Regions from separate parts of the Homo sapiens genome. Here region 2 is linked to region 1. Evidence: promoter capture Hi-C in 16 types of primary human blood cells and fetal thymus (Javierre and others, 2016). All regions are on one chromosome and are shown on one strand. The core of a region is centred on a gene start or on the middle of the fragment in contact, and the rest is flanking DNA. Distances in the headings are between cores, read along the strand shown.

Evidence for each region. Contacts are between HindIII fragments. The CHiCAGO score rates a contact against its expected background, and 5 or more counts as called.
Region 2: a fragment that was not itself captured here is called in contact with the fragment with the promoter of LINC02910 in region 1 in 1 of 17 cell types (neutrophils); the score reaches 5.4 in neutrophils.

The regions. Positions count from the first base shown.
Region 1 is chr20:60,053,734-60,059,763 of GRCh38, reverse strand. It overlaps LINC02910 (long intergenic non-protein coding RNA 2910), which reads right to left and starts at 3,839. Exons shown (of 4, transcript NR_161293.1): 1 at 3,756-3,839; 2 at 778-857. RefSeq lists enhancers at 1,059-1,308, 1,015-1,816, 1,912-2,091, 2,102-2,151. The HindIII fragment of the contact is 13,245 bases long and covers 3,022-6,030 here.
Region 2 is chr20:59,959,022-59,965,051 of GRCh38, reverse strand. All of the region lies in intron 1 of CDH26 (cadherin 26), which reads right to left. Among named protein-coding and RNA genes, the nearest start is that of CDH26, 3.6 kb to the right of the region's middle. The HindIII fragment of the contact is 5,313 bases long and covers 1,226-6,030 here.

The DNA.
Region 1 (6,030 bases), core at 2,590-5,089:
TGTTCATGCATGTATATATGTGTGTATATCTATATCATTGTGTCATGCATGTGTCGATGTCAGTGCATGTGTGTATATGTACATGAATGCACATGCATAAATGTGTATATATGTGTGTATATATGCATGCATGAGCATATTTAAATATAGATGTGTGTATATGTTTACATAGGTGTATGTGGGCATGTATGTGCATATATGTATAGGCATGTGCATATAGGTGTGTGTTTATACATAGACATGTGAGTATATATGTATATATCTATATGTGTATATATGTATTATACATATATGTAGATGTGGGCATAAGTATTTGTGAGTACATGCATGTGTACTGTATATGTACGCATCTATAAGGATGTACATTTATGTATCTGTAGGTCTATATGTGCATGTGCATGTGAGTGTATGTGTGTACATGTGTATACATAGGTATGTGTGTATATATGAATGTGTGTCTGTATGTGTATTCATCGTGTGTATATGTGTGTCCATGTGTGCATGTGTTCCTGTGTGTGCATATGTGTTCCTGTGTGTGCATATATGTACATACGTGTGTGTCCACAGCTGGGTTGTGAGAGTCACACAGCAGGAAACAGGTGTTCCCTGACTGCGTCCCCAGAACGTATTCTCCGAGGGCCTCTCAATGACTCTCTGCTGGCCTCACTTTCAGGCCCCCACGCTGGGTCTTATCCCACCTCTCCCTGCCCTCGGCTCCTTCTTTGCACAGGTTCCCATTCACCAGAGGCCCCCGGCTTCCTCCCCACACCAGGTTACCTTGGGAAGTGGGAAAGCCGGAAGAGGAGACCTCACAGCAGAGCCTACCAACAGCTGCTCAGTGGCAGGACCCAGGGCGGCTGCAAGGAAATGAAATCCCCTCTCACTTAACAGCCTAATAAGGATTTGAACCTGAGTCTGCCAGGAATTTCAGTTTAACTGCTTTCTCAGATGTGAAGAACATGTCTGGGCTTTCAAGCATGCCCCAGGGAGGAGCCGCGACAGGCTGAAGGGGAGGATGGCGCCTGTTGCTGAGGCTCCACCTGCCTGAGCTTCTCTGTGAGGCCCCGGAAAACAGCACAGGCCTGGCAGGGGAGCTAGATGTGCAGATGAGAGGGGGCAGCCGCCCCAGGAGACCAGCGCTTGTTGCGGGGAAATGATGTCAGCAAGACGCAGCGGCAGCAGCAGCAAGGAGTCACTTAAGGACATTTCCAGCTGCCCTGGGCAACCTGATCCTCCTGGGAGAGGGGCCCACAGACTCAGAAGGGCTGCAACGCTCAGAGCCCAATCCTCAGGGCTGCGCACTTAGCCAGACAGGCTGAGCTGCATGAAACTGCTTTGTCATTCACACTGGGCCATTCACACTCTCCCAAGTGGAGTCCTCACCCCTGATCTGCCGGTTGGTGGCCAGGCCCAGGGCCCCTCACTTCCTCCTTCCGCCTCATGTGTTCTGCTCAGCCACATTGGCCTCCTTCTAGTTCTTCAACAAGAGGCTCATCCCCCTCCCAGGGTTTGCTCTGGTGCTCCCTCTGCCTGGAGTGCCCTTCCCAGCTCCTCACAGGTGCGGCTTGTTCTGGGCAGTCAGGTGCTTCAGGCTTCCCTGCCCCCCTGCCACCAGCCTCCTATTTAATTTCATTCTTGCAGCTGGCCCTTTTCTACTTTGTCGTGTTTAACTCCCTACCATTTATTTTTCTCCTCTCTCCCTGGAAGGCGAGCTCCCTGGTCATCGTGGGCCTTCCGTGTGTTTCTCATGCTGCGTCCTCAGAGCCTAGAGGCATGGAGTAGCTGCTCACTGAATCCTCACAGAATGAATGAATGATTGACCACACCCATCACATTAGGCCTTATGGGATTATTATCAAGAACGCCCTATTTAATGATGGGGACATGCTGCCCCACTTCCATCCCTGGGCCTTGGTGCACAGGCCAGAAAGTCCGAGACAGACCATCTGTCCTCCCTACAGGGGACCAACTTGCACAAACAAATGGGCATCAGCACCCACTGGGAGCAGCCGTGACCCCTGGGTCCTCGGTACCAGCCACAAAGCCAGTTCTGAGTTTGTTCAGAATCCTGCTTAGAATGAAGGATGCTCCTACACCAGAGATCTCTTAATACGACCACCAAACACCACGGGATTTTCAAAGGTAGCTGCCACAGCCGCCGCACACAAGCTCTGTTCCTGGCTTGCTTCTGCCATCTGCTGGCCAGTTGATAAAAGGCACCGGGGGTTATTTTCCAGTCTCTCTGAGGCTCTTGTTTTGTGGGAGGAACTCATCACCACCTTTATCTTCACAAGGGCTGCTTGGCAGACCTGTCCCATAAGTAGTGCAACTTGGGAAGATCCTAGGCCTCTTGTGGGTAGGGCAGTCATCCAGTCCTGCATCTTATGACTTCACACGTTACAAACGTTAACTTGCTAAACACTCAATGTGAAACCTAGGAGTAAGGGACAATTATCTTTACTATCTACAAACAAGGATGTTCAGGCACAGAGAGGCTCAGTACATTGTGCAAAGTCACACAGCTACAGAGTTGTGAAGCCGAGATTGGAACTCAAGCAATAAGGCACTTTGATGGCAGGCACCTTAATGGGGGGTGGGGGAACACCCTTTACCAACAACCATGCAAATGGCCCAGGTGCTCCTGTGACCCCTGATCCCAGGGGCTCCACCAGAGCACCAGAGAGAGAGGGATGTGGGAAGAGCAGAGGACAGAAGAGGACACGTGCATCTAACCACTCGGAGGACAGGAGAAGGCACCCTAACCTTCTGAGCTGCCATCTTCCAATCAGGAGGAGGGGAGCACTGGATACATAATCTCAAGGCTTTCCCTACAGTTCTCTCAACAGGACAGACAGGCAGGGGTGCACAGTGGTTAGAGCACAGGCTTTTTGGTCAGACAGAACTGGGTTAAAGATCAGACACGTCCACTCACTCTCAATGAGTCCATATCTGTAAGCCTAAGCTTCCGTCCTCACACATGTTGATAAAAGAAAAAGAAAAAAAAAGGCCAAGTGCAAAGCTTTTAGCATTGTTTCTGGTTCAGGGTATGGACTTAATACTGTTTTCTATCATTATAACCACACTAAAGGCTCTGAGAAGTCCTGCAGGAAGGAAAACTACTTGTCTTTATCTCAGCCATCCCCAAGCTAGCTGCCCACAGAGCCACCATGGAGCCCACAGCTCTGTCACCCCACAGGGCCCATGTGCCTGGCCCATTCATGTTCCCTCACACGGGAGCCTCAGGCCCCAGTGGAAACAGACTCAGGAGACAAACCCAGGCCTCCTGCTCCCAGCTCCCCACTCTGTCCTTCTGCTTCTACATCCAACTACCCCCAAAGCAGTTTCTACAATCCATAAACAAAAGAATTCAGAGACAATTCTCCAGGGCTCCCAAGACGACATATTTCATCTGTGGCTTCTACAGTGCTTATTTGTCAGTTTTACAGACCAGAGGCAATTAAGAGTCTAAGGCCGAGAAGGCTGTTTTTAATAATTCTGTCATTATTCTCAATTTTCAGCACCACCACACATGAAAAACCCATTTCCAATTCCCTTAAAGGTGTTAAATGGTTTTTGCACTGTGTTGCAAAAGTTTGCCGTCCGCCAAACTGCTACAAAGTGGGCTTGTAGCGTCCGGTCCTGAGCTGTGGGAACGACTTGGTCGGGGCTGATCCGCTGGAGCCCAGCTCTTTCCCCAAGCGTTCAATTCCCAGCACATGCCGCGTGGGTCACTGTGGATTTCAGGGTGGACTCACCGCGCTGCTGGGTGTTGCAGTCCACGCGATTTCACAAGACTCCATGCAGGACACCTCCACCCGGCCCAGGCTCAGGCAGGATATGAACAGGAAACCACTGTTTCCTGCCGATCAACACCCAGGAACTGATGAAGTAACCCAGTGCCCAGCCCCTCTGACAGCCACAGAGCCAAGAAGAGGGAAGTGAGGTGGCATCCAAGGCAGCCCCTGAAAGAACTAAGCAAGGCAAGTTCAAGGGGTTCAGGGCTCTGCAGCAGCTGATGGGGAGCAGGGAGGAGCATTCCGTTTTCAGGGCATTGAAAGTCCTTGAAAGGAGAAAATTTTATAAGGAATGACAAGGCCTGGATGCAGAAGGTGGGAGACCCCTGCCCTTGATAACCGTCATAGTTACCAATGACAACTATGATAAAGAGATGACTTTCTGTGGCTCCCACTTGCTGCCCTCTGTGGTTCCAGGCACATCACAGAGAACTCTTCATTTTCATGAGGCCCCATAAGGACATCCCTATTACTATGATCCTTATCAATATCCTGATGTTACAAATGAGGGAACCAGGACACAGAGACGCTGAGGAACTTGTCTGAAGTTACATGGTGGAGACATAGCCTGGGACGCAGCAGTGAGAGGGACAGACGAGCCCTGCCCCTGTGCACCAAGCCATCTGCTGGGGACGCAGAAATCAAACAGCTCGTGGCTGCCCTTGTGCCCAGCGCTGTGGGCATGAGCGAGCTGCTTTGAAGAGACAGCGTGGTGACCTGCCCTGCTGGCCCAGGCAGCATCACACGGCAAGAAGGCGGGCTTTGAAGGGTTTTAAACAGAGTCGTGTTCCCACGTCTGCAGTGAGAGGGCTGCAAGCCTTTGTGTTTTTCACACGGTGTTACACAGCGTTGGGGTCCACGGACCTGCCTCGGAAGCTGCTCATGGGCAAATGGACGACCACGGGTGGGGAAGGAAATTTCCCCCAAACACACACATGCTTCACCCAGAGCAGCCAAGCTGTTTGTGTGTTTGTGTGTATTCACGTGTGTATGTGTGTGTGTGTGTCTTATGCCTAATGGTTCATTGAGTTTAAGGATCTCTCAGCTCCCTTGCAGCACAAATGTTTCATAATTTGGTGGTTAGCGCGCAGTGACCAGGCAATACAGGTTCATCAAAATGCACCAATGAGACAGAGACAGGAGAGGATGTTTTGGCAGCAGACAGACATCCAGGAGGCCTAGCACACCCCCATCCCCCGGCCCCAACCTCAGAGAGATAATCAGGGGAGCAAAGGGCATTAGTATGAAACGACCAAAGAGACTTAGCGAGCAACGTCAGACTCCCTGCAACACGCGTGCTGATGGGACAGAGGGGGAGTTATTTTTATACTTCAGAAATAACCAAGCATTCTGCATGCCCAAAGCCAGTTTGGGTTTTAAATACCTTTCATAATTTTTCTGACTATGGAGGTAATACATCCTCAGGGCATAAAATTTAGAAATTATAGAAGAGTATTTTTAAAAATCCAACCATTGAGCAATAACCATTATAAAAATCTTACTGTTTTCCTTTCTTGTCATTTATCTAGGCTCATACAGATATTTGGGGCTTTTTTCACAAAACTAGGAAAATGTTAAAATATATATTCTAATATTGTCTCGATTTTATTATTAGATTTATCATAACCATAAAAGATTTGAACACTTTTAACGACAGCGTATTATTCCATTTCCATGGAATTACTGTAATGAATCTCCTACTGTTGGGTTTCAGTTGCTTCCAAATTTGAATGTAAATAATTTGGGGGCAGTTCTCACTCCATCAATGGCAGACTAGGTTGAATACAGCCGAGGTTTTGCAGGCACACACTATGCCCAAATTAAAGCCACAGCCCAGGATGTTGGCCATGGAGAGATGATGCTTTCAACTGTATCAACTCTTGAAGCTGGTGAACCATGGCTTCTCCCCTTCAGGCGCTGGCAGACCTTCTCCTCACACTCTTGGCTCTTTGCTGGGCTGACAACTCCCTACTTGCCCTGCAGGCCTTCCCTGAGCTCTGGGGTCTTCTTTCTGCCCCCTTCCATAGCTCCCCGTGGCTGCCACATCTCAGCACTGACATCCTACGTGGCTCTTTGTCCACACCTAGCTCCCTAGACCATGCACCCCTTGTGAGCTAGGTCTTTGTCTTCCACATGGAAGTTCTCACTAAACACTTGAATAAAGGAATGAATAAACAAATGAATGAACAAACAATCTAACAAAGAAGGAGCACATGGGCTGACCTTGCAGGGCTCT
Region 2 (6,030 bases), core at 2,633-5,132, 95 kb after region 1:
TGTCAGTAGTTTTAAATTAAGGGCCTACCCAGGTGTATAATTTTTAAATGGAGAAAATTGTAGTTCTTGCAAAAGATAAAGAAATTAATTCCGTTTCTGAAACAGGTGTATTTCCAGGTGGCCAAGGTTATTAACAAGGAATATATTGAGGTTTCTTGTTCCCTCTGGGCCTCAGTTTCCCCTTCTGTAAATTGAGGGTATGAGACAAGGTGTCTTTAAGGGCTCTTTCAACACTAAAGCTCTGTAAATTCATTTTATTATGATAAGACATAAACGGCACAGTTGACAGTCATGTAAGAGCTGGCTGAAGTGTTCAAAAAGAGGTTTGAAATGGTGGATGTTTATACTTTGCCAGAGATGCCTTAAATTTCACATTGTTGTGTGTGTTTCATTTCTCCTCTCTTTATGCATGTCTTAGAAATTAACTTGAGATCTCTCATCTGGGTGATGCAGGAAGACTGGAAATTGTTATATTTTCTGTAATGATTTTGTAAGTGCTCTCATTATATTTCTCATCTGTGCCAAATTTAGGCAGTCTGTCCAAAGAGGAAATCTTTCAAAAGATTTACATAATGCTTTCTATAATGCGGTGGTGTGGGCCTGGGGTCGGGGGCGGGGGGTTCTTTCTAGATGCTTGTTCCCTCAGCTACCATGTCCACCAAACCACTTTATCAGAGGGGGCCAGGCAGACATATGATTGCATGGTCCGCCCTGCACATGATTTGACAGATGGCTCTGGACCTGGGGCATGTAACCAATATCATTCAGGCTGGCCTGGCTGGGCAGCCATGGCATCTTTTGGGAGAAAATTCTCTGAATGAATGAAGATGTAATCTGTGACTATACAGGATACTAAAGAGCTAAGAGGCCTATATAGAAATCATTCTCTCCCAAAATGCTTGGAAGTATTTCATTTTTAAATGCAAGTTTTTATTTAAGCAGAATTCGAGTCCTAAAAATCAGCAGAATTTGGATCAAGGACTCTGTTCTGCAGGTTTATGTCTTTGTTCCAGATTCAGTGACAAGTAATGACTAGCCATAGGAAAGGAGTCTTTCTCCCCTCTTCAGTCATTTCCAGTTCTGAGAGCCGACGAGTCCTCAGCTTGGGTCTGTGGCAGGCTTGAAAGACCATGGAGGAGAGAGGTTTTAAGATAATGAAATTGGACAGTGAGGAAAGCCTCTTTTTTTTTTTTATTTTTGGATGATGAGGAAAGCCTCTTAAGCTTTCATTCAGGGAGAATTTGGACCCTAGAAATCACAGAATTTCCTATGAGAGATTCCTCTAGAGATTCTTTTAATCCGTACCCAATATCTCTCTTCTGGGCTCTAGACCAGGGCAGTCCTAGGAAAATCTCTGTGAAGATGAGAATGTCCCTGCTGTCCTGGCCAGTGTGGTAGCCCCTAGCCACATGTGGCTAATTGGGCCCCTAAAATGTGGCTAGTGCTAGTATAGGACTGAATTTTAAATTTTGCTTAATTTTAATTAACTTAAATTGCCACATGTGACTAGAGGCCAATGCAGATAGTATAAAGTATTGGTTAAGCATGTGGATTTATAAGTTTAGAAGACCTGAGTTTAAATCCTGTTCTATGGGCAATATGGCAAAAACCTGTCTCTACAAAATATATAAAAATTAGCCAGGCATGGTGGCCCATGCCTGTAGTTCCAGCTACTTGGGAGGCTGAGGTGGAAGGATCGCATGAGTCTGGGAGGCGGAGGTTGCAGTGAGTTGAGATCATACCACTGCACTCCAGCCTGGGCAGCAGAGTGAGACCCTGCCAAAAAAAAAAAAAAAAAATCCTTATCTACCCCTCACCAGCTATGTGATGTCGGGCAGGTAATTTATGCTCTGGAGTCTGCATTTCCTCATCTGTGCACACACATGCACAACCCCCACATACGTACATGTATAAGTGTTTGTATGTATTTGATCCTCACAACAGCCCAATCATGAAGGTACTATTATTATTCCTTTTTAACATACAACACTCACACACAAAGTGCTCAGGATGGCAAGGGCTACGTAAGTATCTCCTCTTTTTCCTATTCAAGTCTCTAGGCAACATTTCCACTGGCATCTCCCACAAGCAACTCAAATCCTACATGTCCCAGACTGATAGCATAGCTTGTATTCTCACAATCCTGCCCATCCTGGGGGCTCTCTAACCACAAAAGACACTTACCTACTCATTCCAAAGGTCATCCTTGATGCCTCTGCTTCTCTCATCCCCATGTCCAAGTTCTGTCAAGTTCACTTCCTAAGGCCAGCTCTTCTCTGCCTCCACCCCAAACAGCTAAAGTTTCCACCACCTCGGGAACCCACAGGATTGGTCTCTCCCATTCATTCCATCCTTCTGTGGTGGGTTGAATTGTGTCCCTAAAAGCGTATATTGAAGACTTAATTCCCAGTACCTGTGAACGGGACCTTATTTGGAAATAGGCTATTTGCAGATGTAATTCTTAACTGAATTACAGTTAAGATGAAGTCACACTGGGTTAGAGTGGGCCCTAATCTAGTGAGCAGTGTCTCGATAGGAAAACACAGACACAAAGGGATGATGCCATGTCATGACAGGGGCAGAGACTGGAGTGACGTAGCTGCAAGCCAAGAAACAGCTGGGATTGCCAGCAACCCACCAGAAGCTGGGGAGAGGCCAGGGAGGGTCCTCCCAGTCTCAGACGGATTTTGGCCCTGCTGACGCCTTGGTTTCAGACTTCTGACTTCTAGAACTGCAAGAGAGTACATTTCTCCTATTTTAAGCCGACGTACCAGTTTGTGGTTCATTGTTTCAGCAGTCTGAGGACACTAATATATGTTCCTAACACATTCTCTGCACAGAGGCTTGAGTGATCTTTAAAAGCACAGATCTCACACCCCTTTCCCCCCAGTGTTTTTACTTCTCTTAGGACAGAATCCAACCTGCTCTGTCCCCTGCTGACCCTCTCAGCTTCACCTCTGACCACACTATCCCCACCTTCTGCAACCCATCACTCTGTTGGTCTTAAATGAAGGGCTGAAAGAGTAATTCAGTCAGAGCATAAATGCTAACAATTTATTAAAATGTAACTCAATTCAGAATTTCCCAGATTGGTAACAACGCCACCACCACCAACAACAAAAAATCATAAGTGGCTTTTCTCATTGTACAGTTTCATTCTCTTAAAACTTCCCTCTTCTCTGGTCTTTGAAGCCTGCCACAGCCCCAAGGTGAGGACATATGAGCTCAGAGGCCTGGAAATGACAAAAGGGGAGAAAACTCCTCTTCCTTGGCTTGTCATTACTTGTCACTGAACCTGGAACAAAGACATAAACCTGCAGAACAGAATCCTGACTTGGTGATTTGGCTTCATGGCCAAATGACAAAGAAAGGGTGTGGGGATTTCAGAGGAAAACTATTGTGGACACAATAGCTCTCCAGCAGAAATGGTATCAGCTTGTAAATATGGAGATCTGAACAGGGGGAAGTAGGTATCTGTCATAGATGTCACAGATGGCAATAAGCCAATTCAGGGGGCGGGGATGTAAAGGAATGGAACGGAATGTTACTCATAGCCAATTTGACAATTATTGAGCACCTGCCAGGTGTAAAGCTCTTTAAGAGTTAAAGGTCCAGCATTCTGATTGCTAAAAACTTCTTACATCTATTGAATCATGTTCTCTTCATCTGTCTTGATTCCCTGGAATCTACATAAAGCTGCTGTCATCAATCACTGAAGTACAATCCACAGACCCATTCCCACTGCCCACCCCCACCCAACCACCCTCAGAAGTCAATTAATTTGCTTTGGCACTGCACTAATACGCCAGAGGGAAGAGAATTCAGGTCTGTTTCCTGATCAGACTCATTGTGGGTAGGAGCAGGAGTGAGGGAAGGATGGGGACAGGATTTGATCTGGACTATATTCAAATCCATGCAAACATGGGCTACTAAAAAGGACTTCTGTGAAGTATTGGAGATCAAATTAATGTGCTGTCTGACTAAGGAAACTCGTAACTCTTGATATGGCAAAATGTGACCAAGAAAATTCTCCAAACCTCAAGCAACTGGTACCAAACAAGTTATCCACTTTCAGACAGGGTTTTCCCCCTATTATGTTTATTGGTGTATTCCCAGTGCCTGGCCCAAAGCAGGTATCCAGTAAATAGTTTTAGCATGAGCTCTGAATGAATATTGCCAACCATTTTCACTGTGATTAGAAAAACGGCTGGGTCGTTACTGAACTGTGAACCTAATAGTAGACAGAGGCTCTCTAAGAGAAGATGACGTTTGTCTGGGCAAGGACATATCCATGGGAATATGTGTGCCATGGTAAACGATGTGCAGAGTCAGGGAGGTAAAGGGAGATAAAGGTTTTCAAAGGAAAAAATGAGAAGGATTATATCATTGTTTTGAAATAATTATCTTTGGCTACAAAGATCAATAAGAAGGGTGACACTGGTCTGAGTTTGCACAAAAAGTTGCTGGGAAGATTTCTTCGAAAAAGTATTTTTTGTGTAAGGTTTTAACGGCCTTTGTGCAAAGTTGTTATTTTTGCAGAGCTTTTGTGATAGTTTTAGTTATCAAGCCTACAAATGTGAGAACCCCCTTTTCATAACCTTCTTTGTGTCTATATATCAGGCTTTGTGCCTGTGTGTGTGTGTGTGTGTGTGTGTGTTTTAACATAAGGAACTCCATTCTGATTCTGACAACTTTCGCAGTACCAAGGGCTTTTACGCATTTCCTCATTCACTGGTACAACCACTGGCTCAGATAAATTCAGTTACTAGCTCCATTTTCAGGTGAAGAAAAATAGGCTTAACAAGGTTATGTTAAAACCAGTGCACTGACACCCAGTGCACTCCCAGGTCAGCTCAACCTGAACCTTTGGGGGCAAAACCCAGGCACTGAGATCCCTTGAAGCTCCCTAGGTAAGTTCAACTTGATCCAAGGTAAGGAACAAAGTTAAGCTGGCCTAGGTCCCCAGCGGGCTGTGAAGGAGCCTAGGTCAGGACGCCAAGCAGCCCAGTCCAGAGCTCACAGTTACCAGCCACTGGGCTGCTTCCCACCCTCAGCTGGTATTCAAAGGAAGAAATGATTCCCTCTCCCTACCTACAGAAAGCCAACGAAGCAGATCATAACCAACAAGCGCATGCAACATTACCTCTGTCCACTCTAAGTACAAACAGAGCAAGCCCATGTGTTTCGAATCCTGACTCCACTAGTTTGTATTCCCATTTAAACAGTGGCAGTTGGGGGCAATGGATTTAGCCATTCCATCCCCATGGGTTTGCTCAAATTGCCTTGGATCCAGACAACTGAGATTTCCTCAATCTTATGTAAAGTGTGAACAGAAGTATCATTATAAAACTTGGCAGGGCGCAGTGTCTCAAGCCTGTCATCCTAACACTTTGGGAGGCTGAGGCAGGCAGATCACTTGAGGTCAGGAGTTTGAGACCAGCCTGGCCAACATGGTGAAACCCTGTCTCTAATAAAAATACAAAAACTAGCCGGGCATGGTGGCGTGCACCTGTAGTCCCAGTACTCGGGAGGCTGAGCCAGGAGGTTGCTTGAACCCAGTAGGAGGAGGTTGCGGTGCACTGAGATGTCACCACGCACTGTAGCCTGGATGACGAGACCCTGTCTCAAAAAAAAAAAAAAATTGTGTGTGTTGGCTGGGTGAGGTGGCTCATGCCTGTAAACCCAACACTTCGGAAGGGCAAGGCGAATAAATCACTTGAGCTTAGGAGTTCGAGACCAGCCTGGGCAACATGGTGAAAATCCATCTCTATAAAAAATACAGAAATTAGCCAGCGTGGTGGTAAGTTACTGTAGTCCCAGCTACTCTTGAGGCTGAGGTGGAAGGATCACCTGAGCCTGGGAGGTTAAAGCTGCAGTGAGCCTTGATCATGCCACTGCACTCCAGCCTGGATGATGAAGCCAGACCCTGTCTCAACAAAAGGAGAAAGAAACAAAGAAAGAAAACACGTGTGTGTTGATGTAATCTCACTAAAAATAGTGTGAACTATATAAATTAGTTTTAAACAGGTC